5 separate regions of the Homo sapiens genome follow, and regions 2, 3, 4 and 5 are each linked to region 1. The links are contacts of gene promoters, found by promoter capture Hi-C in blood cells and fetal thymus (Javierre and others, 2016). All regions are on one chromosome and are shown on one strand. The core of a region is centred on a gene start or on the middle of the fragment in contact, and the rest is flanking DNA. Distances in the headings are between cores, read along the strand shown.

Region 1 (2,827 bases), core at 153-2,652:
CACCGTCTCTACTAAAAAAGAAAAATTACAAAAAATTAGCCGGGCGTGGTGGCGGGCGCCTGTAGTCCCAGCTACTCGGGAGGCTGAGGCAGGAGAAAGGCGTGAACCCGGAAGGCGGAGAGTGCCGTGGGCCTAGATCGTACCACTGCACTCCAGCCTGGTGGACAGAGCGAGACTCCGTCTCACAAAAAAAAAAAAAAAAAAAAAAAAAAAAAAAGACTGAGGGAACCTTCCCAGGAAACCCCTAGCAGCCTTATTTCTCCTTGGCCAGAATATCCTTGCCTAATTCACACAGCAAGAAGCTTGAGTCCATTCTGATTAGCTTAGAATCCATCAAGATCCTCCCTTAGGGAGTTAGATTCTAGATTTCCCGGAAGAATCTAAAAATTGCAGGGTCGTGCTAGCCAGGTATGAAAATAAGCAAGTAAAAAGATGATGACTGTTGGGTAAAGCTATCGACAAGGTCAGCTACAAAACAGTCAAGCCAAGGAAGGCTAGTCACAGATGCACCCCAGACACAAAAGCACAGTCCAGGAGCTGAGGGTGCCTGAGCCACAGTGGTTCCCGCCTACCTGGCCTTCGTAGGAAAGTTTCCTGTGGTCTCCCTCATTGAAGAGCCAGGACGGGTCAGGCGGTGGTGGGTCTCAGACATTGAGCCCCACAACGCACTGAGACTGAACATCAGACCATTTATAATAACAGAACTCTGTCCCACAACTTCTGCAGCAATAGGTACAAAACAGAACTTGGTCACTGCCAGCCTCCCTATTTTTTTCCCTGTCCCACTTAGGAGCTACCACAGAAAGCCAAATAGGCTCGACTGAGCGATCACCTAGGACGAATCGCCTCCAGTTAGCGTGCTTCCACCTTCCACTCGGAATGCTCCAAGCAGGGCACTCCCGGGGCTTTGTTTCTATCACTAGGACGCGTCCCCACGCCCAGGCTGTCCCTGAGTCCCTGCCACAGGCGCAGATGTTGGCGGGCGCCCTTGCCCCTGAGCTCCCGGTTAACGGCCTTGGACTGTTCTCATGGCTCAGTCTTGGTCTCTCTCCCCAGCAGGGCAAGGCGCCGGGAAGGCACCCGAGATGACAGCGCCGAGCCCCATAGGCGCTAGTCCCGCCCTGGACGCCGACCGCCGCCTCCACAGTCTCGGCTTCGGTTGCTGGATGAGAACCAGCGTGGCCCGTTTAAGGGGGAGGGGACAGGCGCTGCAAGGAGCAGAGCCGCGGGAAGCAACTCCCTAAGCCACAATGCTAGTCGCGAACACAGGAAAAAGCTCATCCCGCCGCCGCGGGGCCCCATGCTCCCGCCGGCAATGACTATGCCTGTGGGAGCAACGGCTACCGGCGCGCGGCCTTCTGGGAGTTGTTTGTTGCGCGGAGCGCGGGCACGTCCGCCGGCCACCGGAAGCACCGCCATTGGCCGGTGCGTGCAGGTGAGTCTGGCGGCCTCAAGGTTGGCTCGGAGGTTTCACTGTTAGCCGGGTGCGGCCGGAGCGCAGGACCAGGCCAGAGCCGCCCCAAGTGATCTGGGCGTGCCGGAGAAACGAGCAGGGCCTGCGGGGGTCCCTCATGCGGCGAGGCCGAGCAAGGGCAGGGGCCTGATGGGATCGGGATCTCTCCGGCCTCAGGGACGGGGAAGGCCGGTCCAGTCAGGTTTCCCCTGCAGGAGCGCCCGGCTGGGTCTGAGCTTGTCGGGAGGCTCTCCTGCTGCAGAGCTGGGAGGGAACTTATAGTACCTCGCAGGTACGGGCAGGGGTGGAACTGGGTGGGACTGGGTGGGACTGGGTGGGACTGGGTGGGACTGGGTGGGCCCTCCCGACAGAGGGTGCCTGGGTCGAGGGCTGCAGGGGCGGGGGATTCAGGCTGGCGTCTGGAGCTCTGGGGCTGCCGACCCAGCGGGCCTCTCCCGGCTCCTTTTTCCTCCCTCAACTCATCTTCTGCGGCTTATCCACAGGTGGCAGCCAAGAGCCTCCTGGCACAGCGGCACCAGGCAGGTGACGCCTATTGGACCCCAGAGGTCATCCCAGCTCCAGACGTGGACACATTTTCTTCCAATGGTACGTGAAGCTTGAACCTTGCAGAGAACATGTGTATTTTCCAAGTGAACAGAAGATTAAGGCCAGTCCACGCAGGGCAGGGGTAACTGGGGTGTTGGGGGCCTGCACTGGTTAAGCGATGCTGGTGCACCCCATAGAGAGACTACAGAGGTGAACAGGATGGGATGTGTATGTAACGCCTGTAAGTTAGGGATCGGGGTTCCATTTGTGTTGGGTGATATTTGATGGGGACCGTACAAGGCAGTGCTAATGAGGAAGGCATGGGGTTGGATTTCAAGAGTCTAAGGGAGTAGGGAAACATCTGATTGTGGAAATGACTCCGTGTAAGGAGGGATGCCAAAAGACAGGAAGGAGTGGAGGAAGACTGTGTTTCTGTTTCCAGCGTGGAGCCAGGGTAGAAGTCACAGTGCAAGGAAGATGTGGTATGCCTGGTCAGTCTCTGCATGGGAGTTGAGGAGCATGTGGGTGACATGGCTGAATGTGGAGGAGGGAATGGCAGTGGCAGGAAGCCCAGGAGGTTTGGGCTGGACACGTAACCTGGAGCAGATTGGAAACGTCACCCCACAAGCAGGGAAGGAGAAAACTGGAAAAGGAAAGAGAAAGCAACTCCCTCCCCAGCCCTGCAGCCAGAGGGACTTCTGCCAGATCAGCCACCATACAGGTCCAGTATGAGGAACAGATGGGGAATTTTATGTCCAAGTATAATCACTATGAATACATGTGTTGTGCCCCTTTTGCAGGTTAACACAATGTTAAGCTCTGTAAATG
Region 2 (2,827 bases), core at 209-2,708, 1.0 Mb before region 1:
AGTTCGAGACCAGCCTGGCCAACATGGTGAAACCCTGTCTCTACTAAAAATACAAAAATTAGCCGGGCATGGTGGCAGGTGCCTGTAATCCCAGCTACTCAGGAGGCTGAGGCAGGAGAAATGTTTGAACCTAGGAGGCGGAGGTTGCATGAGCTGAGTTCGAGCCACTGCACTCCAGCCTGGGTGACAGAGCAAGACTCCGTCTCAATAAACAAACAAACAGACAGGTTTGGGAAAGCCTCTGAGAAAGGAATGGTTGGCCTGAGCTAAGCGCCATTACCCTGATCCACCTATTGTAACCACCTAATGGGTTCATTATTTTCCCTGCTCCCCAGATAGAGTCGACTTATCAAGACAGGATAATTGCAATAAAGGGTTTAATTCACATCAATCGAGCTAAATGAGAGACCAGAGTTTTATTACTCAAATAGGTCTCCCCAAATATTTTGAGACGAGCTTTTTTGTTTTTGGGTTTTTTTGTTTTTGTTTTTGTTTTTTTTGAGACAGAGTCTCGTTCTCCTTCTGTCGCCCAGGCTGGAGTGCAGTGGCATGATCTTGGCTCACTGCAACCTCCGCCTCCAGGGTTCAAGCGATTCTCTTGCCTCAGCCTTTTGAGTAGGTGGGATTACAGGCATGCGCCACCACACCCGGCTAATTTTTGTAGTAGAAACGGGGTTTCGCCCTGTTGGCCAGGCTGGTCTCGAACTGCCTACCTCAGGTGATCCGCCCGCCTCGGCCTCCCAAAGTGCTGGGATTACAGGCATGAGCCATCACGCCAGGCCTTCAATTATATTTCTGCAAGATATGTTCCCTGTCTAAAAGAATTCAATTTTTAATGTTTTTGAAACTTATGTGTTTGCTAAACAAATACGTGGGGGCTGATTTTACGATCTGAGGCCAAATCCACAAACTGATTACAGGGTCCAACAAATATTTGGCGAGTGGGAGGAGAGGGGTAAGTGAGCTGGACTGGTGGCGTCCTGGCTGTGAGCAGGCACAGCCGCAGGCTTCAGGGAGCCCCATCGCGGTGACCCTGGAGAGTGGCCTGAATCGGACGTGACCTTGAAGCAAGGTGGTTTTGGGGTCGCCGGCTGCACAAGGCGCGAAGTGGTTTAGGGTCACGGGCTGCACGAGGCTCCAGCACGTCAGGAGTGGGCGTCTGTTCATTCCCACGTGCATCGCGGCTCTCTCCTAGTTGACGCATGCACACCCCGTGGGTGTATGCGTTGTTCATTCCCACAACGGCCATCACCACCTCTCCGCACCCTCTGTCTCCTTCCTTCTCGGGCCTCACCCCTGGCCCTCGCTTTCAGTGCCCAGCCCGGACCGCAGCACTCCAGTTCCGCCCCAACCCGGGAACCCTGGACTGAGGCTCCCGTTTCTGTCCTTTCTATTGGGCGCACTTCCGATGGCGTCAGGAATTTCAGCCAATAGGAGCCAGCCAGGAAGTACCTCTCTGAGCGGTTGGTGCCGGGTATAAAAGAAGGCCGCGCAGCCACGGCTGCTCACGACGCCGCGGATCCCGAAGCCTGTGTAGCAGTGAGACATCAGTGAGGCTGCAGGACGAGCAGGATTGGAAGCGCCCCGGCCAGAAAGTGACCCCCCACCCCTTTCAGGACCCTGTGAACGGGAACAGCCATCCAGAGGGTTCAGGAAGGCGTCCGCGCCCTCACCTCTTCTCCCCATGAGCTCCCCCAGAGCTGTGGTGCAGCTGGGCAAAGCTCAACCTGCAGGCGAAGAGTGTGAGAGCCAGCGCCAGAGAAAGGACGCAGGGAAGGCTGGGGACTGGGCCAGGGGTCGGGTGCACAGAAGACACATGTGTTGACATCTCCCCTCCCTCTCCTCCTCCCCAACGCTCTTCTTTTCTCCCCACTCCCTCCCTTCCCTCCAATTCTTTCTTTCACCTCTCCCTCCCCTACTCTCTCCTCCCCTTCCTTTCTCTCTGCCTCTTCTTCACCTCCTCCTCCCCTCCCTACCTTACCTTACTCTTTCTTCTTCCCCTTACCTCTCCCTCCCCCTCTCCCTGCCTTCCCCTTCCCTCTCTTTCTCTCCTCCCCTTCTTCCCCTCACCTCTCGCTCCCTATTCCCTTCTCTACTGTTCTCCTCTCCTCTCTTTCTCTCCCCTTCTCCTTCCCTCCCCTCTCCCTTCCTATCTCCCTCCTCCTCCTCTCTTTCAGTGGCTACAGCAAACCAAACAGCCCAGCAGCCCAGCAGCCCAGCCATGTGAGTCCCTTGGGATTGGTATCTGGAAAAGGAAGGAAGGTGGGACGTGGGGATGAAGAACAGACTGGGTGTGTGGGGTGCTGGCTCCTGGGAACGAGAACTACTGATAGGGCTGGGTCTGTGTGAGAAGGGAAAGCGGCAGAGGAAGGATACAATGAAAGAGGAAGGGGAGCATTGGCATCCCTGACTTTCCCTCCGCCTACCCTACCTCCCAAGCTGAGGCTTTTTTCTTCCTCTCCTGTCAGGCGGCGCCTCACAGTCGATGACTTTGAAATCGGGCGTCCCCTGGGCAAGGGGAAATTTGGGAATGTGTACCTGGCTCGGCTCAAGGAAAGCCATTTCATTGTGGCCCTGAAGGTTCTCTTCAAGTCGCAGATAGAGAAGGAAGGACTGGAGCACCAGCTGCGCCGGGAAATTGAGATCCAGGCTCATCTACAGTAAGGACAGTCTCTGCTTCCTCTTTCATCTTTGACGTCTGAGCCCAGCATTTTCCCCAAATACTAACCCCAAGTAAACCCTGCACTTGTACCTTGAAGACTTCTCTGCAGTTCATTCCATTTACACTACCTCCTACCCTGGGTCAGACACTCGAATCCTGGTTCCT
Region 3 (2,827 bases), core at 170-2,669, 750 kb before region 1:
TCCATATGTACATCACTCTTTGGATCACAGTTATCTCACAACTCTGGCTCTCCACCATCACTTTCCTGGCTCACTAAATGCACTACCACTGTGAAATGAATATTCTCTTTTAACTCCCAATCTACATAATCATCTTTAAGCCATTTCAGGATGATTCCCGCCCCCTTGCTCTTGGTTCCCACCAGACATGACAGAGACCTGCAATTTCTTGAAAACTCCCTTCTCAGTCTCACCTCTAAGTATTTTGCACAGGCTGGTTCCTGTGCCTGGAACAACCTTCCAACCTTATTCCAATGGTTGGCAGAAATGGAAACCCCTCCATAAAACCCCTGGCCCGGAGTCAGGACCCTGGGCTTGGGGCTTCTCCAGAGTCCTCAGACCCAAGAGATCGGAGAGTAGCAGGAGAGTGTTCTATATAACACCACAATGCTGGAGAGCGTATTGGGTGGGGGTGGGATCGGTGAGAGCATGGACATTCTCCCCTCACCTGTATAGGGTCCACAATTACTTCTGAGTTCATGGGAACCTGTGGGGAAGAGGGAGACTATGCGAGTCAAGCAATCTTGAAGGAACCCCAAAGGCTCAACCCCATCCCATATTCCTACCCAGTTACAATGTGCCTGGGAGCTGAATGTCTACCCTCTGTGCTTCCATCTTCAAGGATACCTCTTAACTGTGTTAGCTCGGAACAGTGCTCATTATCCGCCCCCATGGCCAACAAGAGTCTGCCCTCCATGAGCAGTCTATGGAATACTTTTTAAACCCTCGGATTCTGGCTCTCCTCTGTTCAGAACCTTCCATGGCTCCCATCACCCTCAGAATAGAGACCCAGCTGCTCAGGATGATATTCCAGGTGCAATCACTTATAAAGCGCTCTGATCCTTTCAGACACTAAAGGCCCAGTTTTCCCAAATGCTCCAGCTGTGAACCATCTCTGAGCCTTTGCATACACTGGTCTCTCTGCCTGGAACGTCCTTCAACTCGTGCTGTCAAAATGGGTCCCAAACACGAGCGCCCCCACTGTTCTAGATACAGGGGCCTGAGCTGCAGTAACCCGAGGAATCGTTCATTCGAAGCTTTGGGATTCAGAGATGGGGGTCAGCGCGCAGACTCGCAGACGCAGCACCCACCTGTGCCGGGCCCATCGGCTCAGCCGCCGCCATCAGGCCTGTGGACTACGGAAGGGTGGCGACAAGTGCAGGAACCTGGGATCAGCTGTCCAGGGCCCAGCCCAGCGGCTAGGTCACTCAGGCAGCGCCACTGTCAAGCCTCAGGCCCACCTCTCTTCAGGGAAGAAGACACTCTCTCACGTTTTCCCTTTTCTGTCACCTCAGGTCTGACATTGCGTTCTGGAAACTAAACCAGTGGATTAATGGAAAAGCAAACAAAATGTCCACCCGAGGATGGTAGAGGAAGTCCCGCCCTGACGTTGGTGAGGACCAACGGAAACGCCTATTTCCTGGGTTTTCATTGGCCCAGAGCCGCCAAGTTTCCTGGGTAATGTAGTTCCCACGGCACCAACACTAGTAAGCGGCGTCTCGCTTCACCTCCAGGTTAAAAGCCCAGAGAAGACCGCCAGGGGCGCGTGGAAATGGTGTCCCTCGTCTCCAAGGCCCAGACGGAGCTTAGCTTCCTCTTGAAGGAGCCATATCTGTATTTCTGGTGAACGTCGTGTTTGACATCAAAGGAATGTTTAGAGACATGATTTCAGCCTTCCTTACGCAGAGAATGCTCATCAAAAAATAAAATGGACACACCATACACTGACGTCACTCAGATTTCTATGGCTGGAAGTTAACAAATATTGTTTTCAAATGCGTGTAGCCTGATGCTCCAGAGTTAGTTTGGCGAGCCTCAGCATTTTCTGTCAGGCACAAGAAAGAAAAGACTCCAGACACCATGATGTGGAACGTGGAGTGGGGATGTTTGGTGGCCTTGAAGTAAGTGAATAACCCTTCTGTCTGTTACCTCAGAAAATATTTATCCTGCTTATACAGCAGTGATTGTGTCAAACCCAACAAGTAATACTCTTGTTCAAGATAGTATTTCATACTCCATATACAGAGATGTATTCAATATTTTAAGTGTTTTACAAGTGTCTGAAAAGACAGAATTCATCAAATGTCATATGGCAATGAAAAGGGCAACATGAACACTTTCTGTAAAGAAGAAATAACCACCAAACTAGATGTCTATACACAACAAAATGTCTTTTATGGAAGTGTGATATAAAACTATTTGAAACCAAAAATGATAAATGTAATGGAAATACATTTACACAAAAAATAATGTTTAAAATAATACTCAAGGCCAAAGAAAGTTGATCTCAGGTGAAAAGTCTGCAATGAGAGAAGAAATGAAGATGAAAAGAAGTGCATCTTTTGATTAAAATAACAGCATATTACAGTGTAAAACATAAGTAGATATACTTATTGAGTTAGAATGATGGAATTCCCGTGCGTAACCTCAACTACATATAAATTGAAAGGAGGCTAGTTGCTCAAAGTTTTAAATTTTTTATATTTCCAAGTGGAAAGCAAATGTATTACAATCCTGTATGGCACGCTAATGTGTTAAACGTTTGTAATTTTTAGCCTAAATATAATAAATACAGTCAGCGTATATACTTTTCAAACTAGAAGAGGAAATGTTTGGAATATAAATAAATAATCAATAGAAAGGTAAAATAATAGTAAAATAAGTGGAAGAAGTGAGGCAAAGAAAAGCACAATGTAGGATATATTTAAACTGTCAACCTAAATAACAGAGATTCTTCAAAGATGTTGAGTTCATTCAGGAATGCACAGGGGATTTGCAAATCCAGGAC
Region 4 (2,827 bases), core at 165-2,664, 650 kb before region 1:
CCTCCACAGCCACCACACAAGTCCAGCCACCAGTAACACTCACCTGGACTACTGCAGCAGCCTTCTTCACTATCTTCCTATCTCATACCTCACACTCAGCCTGTTCTCTCAGCTTGGCCACACACAGGGAACCTGATGAGACCTGGATCAGATCACATACCTCCTCTGCCCCCAAACTGTCATTGCTCATCACACACTCCAGAAGAAACACCCGACAACTGACAGCCATTTTTTGTCTGATTCCTGCATCCCAGCTTTCAGTTCCCATGAGAAAGAAAACAGCTGTAGTTTCCTAAACCAGCTCAGCCTGACCTTCAAGCACTTGCTCATCTGGTATCTAAGCCTGAGACAACGTTCCACACCTTACTTTACTGGTTCCCAGCAATAGGAACCATTCTATACCAGCTTCCAGCCTGGATGTATGACCCTGGGACTGATGTTTGTTCAGGATTCCTAGAACCAAGGACCCAAAGAGTGCCAAGAGAAGAGTCCCAGAACACAATCTCAGAGACAAACACTGGGGTCAGCATCAGTGAGGGCCCGAAACACTCTCCACTCACCTGTGTAAAGCCCATAAGTTTAGCTTCTGCAGTCACGGGAACCTGCGGGAAGAGGAAGGCTATGAGAGGCAGGTAACTATGGTGGAAGCTCCATGGGCTGATGCCTCCTTGTTTCCCTGCGCAGCCCTGGAGCCAGGTGACTTGGTGATGACTAAATTATTATTGCTCCTCAGTTCCGTGTGACTCTTACCTGCTGTGGGACCTTGCACAAGGACTCAACTTCCCTGTGCCTCGGTGTTATCCCCCTTCCAGGCTGTTCCAACTCTGAGTAACTTTAGAAAAAATTTGAAAAGTCTAACTCAGACCATGTGCCTCGTCTGTTCACAACCACCCATGGCTCTCAGCGTCTTGAAAAGAAAGAGCCTCATTTTACCATTCGGGCGTGAACGTTACTGGCTCAATCGTCCCAGCAAGATTCACAGAAACCGGCCCCTCCGCCTGCCACACCCTCCACAGCCCACGACACCAGGCTTGTAAATGGGAGCCCCACCCGCGAGGGCCTCATAGTCCTGGACTCTAGGGTCGGGCTGCAGGGACGCAAGCAGGCGCCCCTCATGCAGGGTGTTGGATTTCCGGCGGAGAGGGCAGGTGAGGCCCGGGAGACGCAGCACTCACCGAAGTCGAATCCCTAAGCACGGCCGCCGCCATCGGATTGTGAGCGGAGCGGGGCCGGGAGCGGCGGGCGACCCGGGGCGGGAACCCAGGCACGGCTGCCACCAGCGCCAGCGACCCACCGGCTGATGCGCAGCGGGGCGACCCCCGCTCTGTGCCGGAGGCAGCGTTTCTAACTCAGGCGGCGTGGGCCGAGGTAGAGAACCACCAAAATTACCATCTCGGAGCGGTGCCGGAAGTCCCGCCTTACCGTATGCAACAAACGGAGACAGGTCCGTTCCTGAACGTTGATTGGCTCCGCGTCTTTGCAGCTTGGCGCTCGGCATTATGGGTAATGTAGTTCTCAGAAGCCCAGGGTTCCGGTGCCCTCCCTGAGATTCACCCGGAACAAGGGCTAAGCGGCCCGCGGAGGGCGCTAGGAAAAGGCGCGACACCAAGAGCGAGACAGGGACTTGCTGCTCCTTAAAGGGGCCGCTGGCCGATTTCCGCAGTCCCATACCCACTGAAGGGAGTGTCTGGGTTAAGATAAGAGGTTGTAGAGACCAAGGTTCTTATTAAGCAGATGAAGCTTTCACGCAGCAGGCTTCAGAGGGAATAGATTGTAAATGTTTCCTATCAGACTTTGAAAGGTGCCAGACTCTTAATTCTTTCCTGGACCATGAAAATAAAAAAACCCTGGAGAGGAAAGGGGATTCTCAGCAAAATGCAGATTCCACAAGACACACCTTTGCAGGGCCTCTTCAAAATATGTCAAATAAATAAAGTTTAGAGTAAAATACTTCAATTCCTTTCAGGGCCTGCTATCTGTCATGTAATGCTATACTACAATCAGGCTGGAATTCACTGTCTTATTGCTACAAGAAGTCTTAAAATCTCTGTTTTAATGTTAATGCTGGTCAGTTGTGCCTGAATTCCAAGGGGAGGAGGGCAAGTCTGACCCTCACTTCCCATCACGTCCTGAACTAGTTTTTCAGATTAACTTTGGAATGCCCTTGGCCAAGAGGAAGGATGCATTCAGATGGTTGGGGGGCTGGGAATTTTATTTTTGGTTTACACTTCTCATGCCTCTTGGAATCTCTGAACCACATACAACGGCCATTTGTTGAGTAAAAGCTTCCAATGCAGGAAACTGTCTCTTTCAGCCTCATGCTATACACCATTAAAACAGTAATTACTGGCAATAAGACTGGGCTTTCTTAAACATACAGGATCTCACAGACCATAAGCCTATGATCCTTCATACCAGCTGCCCATAATACTTTTGGTTTTGGAAGCAGCACCCCATAACCTCAGCATGGCTACCAAGGCCTCCTTAAGACAGGGTAGAATGAATAAGATCTAGTATTTGATAGCACAGTAGAGAGACTACAGTCAACAGTAATTTATTGTACATTAAAAACAACTAAAAGAGTATTATAACTAGAATGTTTGTAACACAAAGAAATGATAAATGCTTGTGTACCCTGATATGATTATTACACATTGTATGCCTGTATCACAATATCTCACGTATCCCATAAATATACATACATACTATGTACTCATAAAACTAAAAATTTTAAAAGACAGATAAATGGCAAGCAGGTAGATGAAAACATGCTTAACATCATTGATCACTATAAAAATGCAAATCAAAACTACAATGAGATATCATC
Region 5 (2,827 bases), core at 228-2,727, 520 kb before region 1:
ATCTATGGTTTCCTCAAAAATCTCAGCTTAGTTTTACTAAGCACTTGCGCCTCCTGATACCAGTGCCAGAGATAACCTTTCACAAGTTTCCACTGGCTGACAAAAATGGGAACACCTCAGTATAACCCCTGTAACCTCTGGCATGGACTTAAGAGCCCTGGGCTTGGAATTTCTCCAGGGCACCAGACCCAGGATTGGGGTAACAGCACTTAAGAATACTAGGAAACCACAATCCCAAGAACATGGGGGTAGAGGCTACTGAGGGACCGAACACTCTCCACTTCCCTATGTGAGTTCCATACGCCCTTCTACAACTGGGAGAACCAGGGAAAGAGGAATGCATCCCTGGTGAGGCTAGATGAGCTCAAGCCTCCCTGTAGCCCTGCCTGGCCCTGAACTCAGGCTGGCTGTTTTACTTTCTGGTCTCAGTGCTGTCACCTCTTGCCAACTGTAGGGCAATGAAAAAAAGATGTAGCCTCCCACTATCTCAATGTCCTCATCGCCCCATCGCTGCTCTTCCTGTGAACAGTCTTTGGAAAAGTTTTTAAACCCTAACATAGGGCGGGCACGGTGGCTCACGCCTGTAATCCCAGCACTTTGGGAGGCCGAGGCAGGAGGATCACTTGTCAGGAGTTCCAGACCAGTCTGGCCAAAATGGTGAAATCCCGTCTCTACTAAAAATACAAAAAATTAGCCGGACGTTGTAATCCCAGCTGCAGGCTTGTAATCCCAGCTGCTGGGGAGGCTGAGGCAGGAGAATCGCTTGAACCCGGGAGTCGGAGGTTGCAGTGACCCGAGATCGCGTCATTGCACTCCAGCCTGGGCGATAAGAGCGAAACTCCGTCTCAAAGAAAAAAAAACTAACATAAATGGCGTCCCTCCTTTGTTCAGAACTCTCCGTGGCTTCTAGCATCCTCACAATGACAGTACAACCCTAGGAGTAACTCCGCCTCATATTCTTCGTTCCCTGCAGAAAACAGCTTTCCGAATTCTCCTGGCTCAGTCGCGCCTCAACCTTTGCACGCGCCGGTTCCTCCGCCTGTCACGCTCTCCCACACCTCGTCACACGCAGTGTCAAAAAAAGGGCCCCACCCACGAACGCCTCAGTGTCCCCGACCCTGGGCAGCGGGGACTCGAGCAGGCGCCCCTCACTGATGGCTTTAGAACGTGGGTGGGGGAAGGTGTGTGAGGACGGGAAGACGCCGCACTCACCTGAGTTGGCGTCCTCAGAGTGGCCGCTGCCATCAGACTCTGCGGGTAGAGCTGGGCCGGGAGCGACGGGCGACATTGGTAGGGACCCGGGGACAGCGGTCCCTATCCCAGGCCTGACGTGGGTCCCCCAGGGCGGCGTCGCCAAGGCTTAGACGCTTTCGTGCAGGAGGGACGACGACTCCCCTCACGCCTTCGTGGCCCCAACTCGGCGCTCTGCTATCTCTGATCCGGTGAACACACCTCAGAGAAGCTAAAATGGCCGCCACGAAGAGGCCCCCCCAAAAGTCCCGTCCTTTCTTTTTGTGACTCTCAAGGAAAGTCGGTTTTCTGAGCTCTTACTGGCTTAGTAGCGTGGCGTTCAACGCAGAGCATTCTAGGTAATGTAGTTTTCATAGATCCCGAGGTGGGTGCCGGGGACCCTTTGCACCAACCTCTTGGAGTAAAAGCGAAGCTCCAGGGCGCTGGGCGATGAGAAATGGCTTATCCAAGTCCTAGGGCAGTGGAGGGACTTCGCCCTTTCTTAAATGGGTCGTAATCAGACAGCATATTAGAGGTGCCATCTGCAACTGATCACCCAAGTGTTTGGGGAATATTATTTCAAACTTCATAAAGTTCAGCAGGCTCCCAGAGGCTAAAATTATTATCAGACGCTCCCTAAGGCTGCCAATCCAAATATGTACATCATTCCATAGAGCCATTCAGACACGAAATATATCCACTAGTAGGGAAGCTAATAAACATTACCATATAAGTTTATTCCTTTTTTTTTTTTTTTAAGACAAAGTTTCCCTCTGTCCCCCAGGCTGGAGTGCAGCGGCGCCATCTGGGATCACTGCAACCTCCGCCTCCCGGGTTAATCGATTCTCGTGCCTCAACCTTCCAAGTAGCTGGGACTATAGGCGCGCGCCACCACGCCAGGCTAATTTTTTGTATTTTCAGTAGAGACAGGGTTTCACTATGGTGGTCCCAAATTCCTGGCCCCAGGTGATCTGCCCGCCTCGGCCTCTCAAAGTGCTGGGATTACAGGCGTAAGCCACCGTACCCAGCCTCTATCATATTACATTTCAAATGTATGCACTCCGAAGCATTGAAGTCAGTCTGTGCACTTTTGGTCAGGGACAGGTGAAAAACTACTTCAGATAGTGGCATGATAGTGCTTCTAGAAGATAGAAGAGAAATGTTAGATCACCTTGAAACAGTAGTACAAAGGTAGAATTCTGTCTGATTCCAACAGAAAACATCTTTTGCCTGCATAGTCAATTATTGTGTCCAATTACTGTGTCCAGTCAATAACTGTGTCCAATTCACTGAGCAACGCTTTTATCCATTTCATAATTCTTACTTGATATCTGAGATATATTCCTTCTAGAAGTCTAACATCAATCTCAAAAAACAATGAAAGAAATGCTACTTTGATAAGAGACAAAGGGGAGAGGTGGGACTTCTTAATCAGAAAGCCGGTGAAATGCACTTGAAGGAAGTGAGAAATGAGCCATGTGGGTATTTTTAGAATAAATTCCAGGCAGAAGAAGCAGGTTACTAGAGTGCCTGGATGGATGGAGACTTCACAGGGCATTTCAGCATTGGAGGGCCTAGGGCTCCAACCCAGCAGGCC

What was found. Contacts are between HindIII fragments. The CHiCAGO score rates a contact against its expected background, and 5 or more counts as called.
Region 2: the fragment with the promoter of AURKC here is called in contact with the fragment with the promoter of ZNF544 in region 1 in 1 of 17 cell types (activated CD4 T cells); the score reaches 5.8 in activated CD4 T cells.
Region 3: a contact is called between the fragment with the promoter of ZNF772 here and the fragment with the promoter of ZNF544 in region 1, in 4 of 17 cell types (non-activated CD4 T cells, fetal thymus, total CD8 T cells and 1 more). The highest score is 7.6, in non-activated CD4 T cells.
Region 4: the fragment with the promoter of ZNF416 here is called in contact with the fragment with the promoter of ZNF544 in region 1 in 4 of 17 cell types (activated CD4 T cells, non-activated CD4 T cells, erythroblasts and 1 more); the score reaches 6.5 in activated CD4 T cells.
Region 5: a contact is called between the fragment with the promoter of ZNF154 here and the fragment with the promoter of ZNF544 in region 1, in 1 of 17 cell types (neutrophils). The highest score is 5.9, in neutrophils.

The regions. Positions count from the first base shown.
Region 1 is chr19:58,227,512-58,230,338 of GRCh38, forward strand. ZNF544 (zinc finger protein 544) reads left to right here and starts at 1,403. Exons shown (of 7, transcript NM_014480.4): 1 at 1,403-1,435; 2 at 1,957-2,059. RefSeq lists an enhancer at 1,279-2,105. The HindIII fragment of the contact is 1,767 bases long and covers 301-2,067 here.
Region 2 is chr19:57,229,565-57,232,391 of GRCh38, forward strand. AURKC (aurora kinase C) reads left to right here and starts at 1,459. Exons shown (of 7, transcript NM_001015878.2): 1 at 1,459-1,742; 2 at 2,178-2,223; 3 at 2,469-2,660. The coding sequence starts at 1,685. The HindIII fragment of the contact is 17,293 bases long and covers 1-2,827 here.
Region 3 is chr19:57,476,147-57,478,973 of GRCh38, forward strand. It overlaps ZNF772 (zinc finger protein 772), which reads right to left and starts at 1,420. Exons shown (of 4, transcript NM_001144068.2): 1 at 1,131-1,420; 2 at 488-526. The coding sequence starts at 1,163. RefSeq lists enhancers at 621-1,144, 735-1,934. The HindIII fragment of the contact is 1,804 bases long and covers 1,075-2,827 here.
Region 4 is chr19:57,577,497-57,580,323 of GRCh38, forward strand. It overlaps ZNF416 (zinc finger protein 416), which reads right to left and starts at 1,415. Exons shown (of 4, transcript NM_017879.3): 1 at 1,176-1,415; 2 at 561-602. The coding sequence starts at 1,208. RefSeq lists a silencer at 1,105-1,324. The HindIII fragment of the contact is 6,514 bases long and covers 1-1,738 here.
Region 5 is chr19:57,707,727-57,710,553 of GRCh38, forward strand. It overlaps ZNF154 (zinc finger protein 154), which reads right to left and starts at 1,478. Exons shown (of 3, transcript NM_001085384.3): 1 at 1,213-1,478. The coding sequence starts at 1,245. RefSeq lists enhancers at 1,066-1,705, 1,449-1,578, 1,599-1,658. The HindIII fragment of the contact is 9,236 bases long and covers 1-2,827 here.